Regions from separate parts of the Homo sapiens genome. Here region 1 is linked to region 2. The links are contacts of gene promoters, found by promoter capture Hi-C in human tissues and cell types (Jung and others, 2019). All regions are on one chromosome and are shown on one strand. Each heading gives the region's core, a stretch centred on a gene start or on the middle of the fragment in contact. The rest is flanking DNA. Distances are from core to core; before and after follow the strand shown.

Evidence for each region. The method cuts DNA at HindIII sites, captures the fragments that hold promoters and counts their contacts. A contact is called where the count stands out against the background at its distance.
Region 1: a fragment that was not itself captured here is called in contact with the fragment with the promoter of LGALS12 in region 2 in 1 of the 25 tissues and cell types used here (pancreas).

Annotation. Positions count from the first base shown.
Region 1 is chr11:63,816,776-63,819,475 of GRCh38, forward strand. SPINDOC (spindlin interactor and repressor of chromatin binding) reads left to right here. Exons shown (of 6, transcript NM_138471.3): 2 at 1,030-1,359; 3 at 1,441-1,590; 4 at 1,752-1,877; 5 at 2,027-2,227. Among named protein-coding and RNA genes, the nearest start is that of SPINDOC, 4.7 kb to the left of the region's middle. The HindIII fragment of the contact is 4,226 bases long and covers 1-2,700 here.
Region 2 is chr11:63,504,308-63,507,333 of GRCh38, forward strand. LGALS12 (galectin 12) reads left to right here and starts at 1,777. Exons shown (of 9, transcript NM_033101.4): 1 at 1,777-2,220. The coding sequence starts at 2,152. The HindIII fragment of the contact is 17,008 bases long and covers 1-3,026 here.

The DNA.
Region 1 (2,700 bases), core at 125-2,624, 310 kb after region 2:
GTGTACACAAAGAGCAGGTATCAGGCAGCAATAGGAGTGGGACCATGGCTGTAAATGCTCTGTGAGCACTGAGAAGGGAGGCGAGTTCTGAGGGGATGGGGTGGCCTTTAGAACGGGCATGGTGGCTCATGCCTATAATCCCAGCACTTTGGGAGGCTGAAGCAGGAGGATTGCTTGAGCCCGGGAGTTCACAACCAGCCTGGGCAACATAGCAAGACCCCATCTCTTAAAAATTATTTTTTTGTTTGTTAATTAGCTGGGTGTGATAGCATGCATCTATCTGTAGCCCTAGCTACTCAGGTGGCTAAGGCTGGAGGGTCCCTTGAGTCCAGGAGTTGAAGGCAGCAGTAAGCTATGATAACACCACTGTACTCCAGCCTGGGTGACAAAATGAGACCCCCATCTTTTAAAAAAAAAATTATTAGCCAGGCATGGTGGCGCTCACCTGTAGTCCCAGGTGCTTGGGAGGCTGAAGCAGGAGGATCGCTTGAACCCAGGAGGTCAAGGCTGCAATGAGCTGAGATTACGCCATTGCATTCCAGCCTGGGTGACAAAGTGAGACTCTGTCTCAAAATAAATAAATAAAATTTAAAAATTAAAAGAATTTACCTTCCTCATCCTCAAGAAAGTGTAGAAGTCAGATTTGGATGAAATCTATTGTCAGGGATTGGGGTTCTGGAAAGCTTCGCAGGGATGATGTTGCCCAGCCCAATTAGGGTGGTCTGGACAGATGTGCAAAGGCTGGAGACCTGCAAGAATGCAGCCTGTTGGGAAAGTATGTGTAGTTAGTCCTAAGGTCCAAGACTAGATCAAGAGGAAGTATAGACGCGAGAGTCGTGGGATCCCGGGCACATCGGCTGTGTTGAGTGTGGCGTGTGCCTCATGGGCTCCAGGGGAAGGAAGAAGAACACTTTGGCCAGAAATGCTCTCCTCCCCCATCCCACTCAAACCACTGAGTCTGGAGACGTGCTAAGTGTTGTTGGTTGTGGGCACCTTTAGTGATAACACCCTCCCCCTCTCCCCTCGCAGTGACCCAACAGGAGAAGACCCCACCGCCTAGACCCAGCCCGCTAGAGGCAGGCAGTGATGGCTGTGAGGAGCCGAAGCAGCAGGTGTCTTGGGAGCAGGAGTTCCTGGTGGGCAGCAGCCCAGGAGGCAGCGGGCGGGCACTGTGCATGGTGTGTGGCGCTGAGATCCGGGCACCCTCGGCCGACACAGCTCGCTCGCACATCTTGGAGCAGCACCCTCACACCTTGGACCTGAGCCCTTCTGAGAAGAGCAATATCCTGGAGGCCTGGAGTGAAGGGGTGGCCCTCTTGCAAGACGTGAGAGCTGAGCAGCCGTCCCCACCCAACTCAGGTAGTTGGTCCTGGGGCTGGCGAAGGGAGAAGTCGGACTTGTTGGGGCACTAGAAGCTCATTGTGCTCTTGCTCCCTGCAGACTCGGGCCAGGATGCCCACCCAGACCCAGACGCCAACCCAGACGCTGCCAGAATGCCAGCCGAAATCGTCGTTCTCCTTGACTCTGAGGATAACCCATCCCTCCCTAAAAGGAGCCGGCCCAGGGGACTCCGCCCCCTCGAGCTTCCTGGTTAGTCAACAGAGAAGCCAGTGAGCCCCGGTGGAGGTGGGGGTTTGGGGACAGGGTGAAATACAGGCCCTGTGTTCTGGGCAGGTATCTTCAGGAGCCCTGGGGTGGCAGGGTTCGGGGATGGCCTCTTTAAAAGGGTATGAGGTCTTTTCTTTTTGCAGCTGTCCCTGCCACAGAGCCAGGAAATAAGAAGCCCCGTGGTCAGAGATGGAAGGAACCCCCAGGGGAAGAGCCAGTCAGAAAGAAAAGAGGCAGACCTATGACCAAAAACCTGGACCCTGACCCAGGTGAAGGGGAGGCCCGGGGGAGGCGTGGGCTCTGGCCGCAGTGCTCTGAGGAAATCCGCATCAGTGAGGATGGAGCAGGGCCTGGGCGCAGGGCGCCTGCAGCTCCTGAGGCTTTTTCACTCACAGTTCCATCCCGTCCTCCCTTCCAGAGCCCCCATCGCCAGACTCGCCCACGGAGACTTTCGCAGCACCAGCCGAGGTCCGACACTTCACTGACGGCAGCTTCCCCGCCGGCTTCGTCTTGCAGCTCTTCTCCCACACCCAGCTCAGGGGCCCAGACAGCAAGGACTCACCCAAAGACAGGGAAGTGGCAGAAGGAGGCCTTCCCCGGGCGGAGAGCCCCTCTCCAGGTGAGCCCTCCTGAGAGGGAAGCACAGTAGGGACCTCGCAGGCAGCGCTCCTGGGCCAGGCCTCAGAGAGGCTGCTCTATGGCAGAGCCCACAGTAGGGGTGGGTGGGGTGGGTGGGGTGGGTGGTGCTCAGGTTTCCTGGTACACGGGGCCGGGGCAGGGGATCTGAATGATGAGGAAGGCTGGCCTGAAAGCTGAGCTTTTCTTTTTCTGTTTGTTTGTTTTTTGAGACGGAATCTTGCTCTGTTGCCCAGGCTGGCATGTAGTAGCACAAGCCCGGCTCACTACAACCTCTGCCTCCCAGGTTCAAGCAATTCTCCTGCCTCACCCTCCCTAGTAGCTGGGATTACAGGCGTGCGCCACCATACCCGGCTAATTTTTGTATTTTTAGTAGAGACAGGGTTTTCCCATGTTGGCCAGGTTGGTCTCAAACTCTTGACCTCAGGTGATCCAACTGCCTTGGCCTCGCAAAGT
Region 2 (3,026 bases), core at 527-3,026:
CAGACACTCCCTTCTACTGAGTCCAGGTCTGTAGGTACTTACTTAACTCTTTCAACCAATAACCAATCAGGAAGTCTTTGAATCCACCTATGACCTGGAAGCCCACCTCTTCGAGTTGTGCCACCTTTCTGGACCAAACCAATGTACATATCACATGTATTGCTTGATGTCTCATGTCTCCCTAAAATGTATAAAACCAAAATCTAGCTCAATAACCTTGAGCACACGTTCTCAGGATCTCCTGGGGCTGTGTCACAGGCCATTGGTCACTCATATTTGGGTCAGAATAAATCTCTTCAACTATTTCAGAATTTGACTCTTTTCTTCAAGAAACTGGCCCCTCCACCCTTAGCTTCCTCTCACTGTGTATACAGAGCACCCTTCCTGAGCACGTCTGATTGAATTTCTCCAAATAAGCACCTTCAGTAACCCAGCTCCACCTACTCGGCAACATCTGAACAAACTCAGCTCCGCACCCAAAGCCCTTCTAGTTCCATCCTAAGTCAATGCTTCTCAAACTTTAAAGTGCATCAGAATCACCTGGAGGGGCTGTTAAAATGCAGATTCCTGGCCCCAGCTTCCAGAGAGTGCTCCTCAGTTGGTCTGGGGTGGGGACCCCAAACTTGCATTTTTAACAAGTTTCCAGGTGAGGCTGATGCTGGTGGCTTGTGGACCACAGCTTAGGTAGCACTGGCTAAGATACCTTATCCCAGGACCCTTCATGCACTCTCCCTCCATCCAGGGAGCTGCTTACTCTGCCCTCAGCACCCCATGCGCTTGAGCCTTTGCCCAGCCTGGTCCTGGTCCAGGAATTCCCTGCTGCCAAGTCTGATGCAATGGGTCAGATCCTGGAACCTCCTAACTCAGGATAAAGTTGAGAGGTTGTGCTGCTTTTTAAAGGGAAAGCCTTATTGGGATTTGAACCAGAACTGGAAGGACTGTAGTAAAATGCAGATATTTGGGCCCACCCCCAGATACAGGCCTCGCTGTGGGACATGCTGCTATGGTCACTTTCTCCATGTACAGATGAACAAAGGGTGGCCCAGAGATAGGAAGTGACTTTCCCAAGGGCACACAGCACATTAGACGAGAGGCTGAAGAGGAAGTCAAGTTTCAAGTCTCCCTCCTGCGCAGTTCTGTGCTTCTTGTGCTGCCTTTTCCAAGCTTAAGGGGCTCTGCTTTTTCCCCTTCCCTCATTCTACTTTCTTGTGACCCCAGCTGGGCCCCAGCATTTCCAGCTGATGCTGAAATGGAGCCTCAGGGGGCTGTAAAACTTGGAAAAGGAAGAAGAGTAGAGGAAGGGGCAAGAAAATGAGAGGAAGAGAGCCAGGCGTGGTGGCTCATGCCTGTAATCCCAGCACTTTGGGAGGCCAAGGCGGGCGGATCACGAGGTCAGGATATCGAGACCATCCTGGCCAACATGGTGAAACTCAGTCTTTACTAACAATACAAAAATTAGCCGGGCGTGGTGGCACATGCCTGTAGTCCCAGAGAGGATGAGGCAGGAGAATTGCTTGAACCCAGGAGGCGGAGGCTGCAGTGAGCTGAGATCGCGCCACTGCGCTGCAGCCTGGCAAGAGAGCAAGACTCCATCTCAAAAAAAAAAAAAAAAAAAGAAAATGAGGGGAAGAGATAAAACCCTTTGTGGTGAAGGGAGGAAGGAATGGGAAGTCACCCAAGGCTGTCCAGGGAGCTGGGGGTGGGGCTGTTTCTGGAACCTAAGCACACGTACCACCTCCCCTTCCTCTGACCTAATGAGGGCTCGAGTTGGAAACCACAAACCCTCGTTGGCCCCACAGGAGCCAGCCTCTGGCTTCTCTCTGCAATGGCCATGTGCTGCAGACCCGGAGTGGGTAGTTAGTTGGTTAATGCCAGTCTTCCTCCCCTGGACACTGAGTTCTGCTGACAGCCCCCGCCCAGCCAGAGCTCTGCTGTATACCACCGGGAGTGGGGCTGGTGTGGAGCCTGGAGGTCGCCCGCTGCCCTCCTAGGGCTGCTCCAGACAGCATTAAAACGCTGCAGGTCGCAGGTGAGACTAACAGCTGGGAGAGCTGCTCCAGGCATTTAGGACCCTGACTGGGGCAGATGAGTCAGCCCAGTGGGGGCAGGGCTCCTGGAACGAGGATCTACAGTTGGAGTTGCCCCACTGTCATGTCACCTGGAGAAAAACTGGACCCAATTCCTGACAGCTTCATTCTGCAACCACCAGTCTTCCACCCGGTGAGTTGTCACTCTAATGTGGAACCTCCTCGGTCTCTGGGCTCTTCCCTTCCAACTGGGCCCACACTCCTGGGTGGTGGGGTGGAAAGGACCTCAGTCTTTCTGCTTCTCCCAGCACCTGCCCTGGGTTCTGGAAGGCCCTCCTGAGCTTAGTAAAGTGGCTGACTGCTAATTCCCACTTGGGTGTAAATGACTGCTAGGCTTCCAGGGTCACTGCATTTTGAAAGTGGCGAAGCCTGGAGCCACAGTGCTCTGCCCCTACTGTAATGGATGCTAGGAGGATGAGGGTGTGGGGGTAGGATTGTTGGGGGAATGCTGATTACTTAGTAAGGACAGTCTCATCCCCAGCCTGGAAGGAAGGGTCAGGTGGGAATTTCCACTCAGGGATAGGGGTTGGGGGTGTTTCTCTCTTTCTCCTCCAGCTCAGTCAGTGCCCAAGAGGTTTTCTGAAGCCAGGCAATGATTTACAGAAGGCTGAATTCCCAGCAGACACCCCCTACTAATGAGCATTAATTATCACTTTCCCTTACTTGGCCCTCCCCTCCCATGAGAGCTGCATCCACTCAGTTAATTACAGGCCTGGAGGGAGCCTGGGAATGGGAAGTGATCAACTGCTGAACCAACCAGCTGAGCTTGCCAAGCTGGCATCCCAAGCCTCCCTCCCATGCTTCTCAGGTGCCTGAGGAATGGGCTGAAGCAGCTGCCCAGGTTACGGCAGCTCCTTGCTTTAGAGGCTGAGAGCTCGCACCTGGAGGGCCATCCTGGTGGTTTTCAGTTTTTTCTAGGTGGTTTGGGTTCCTAAAGGT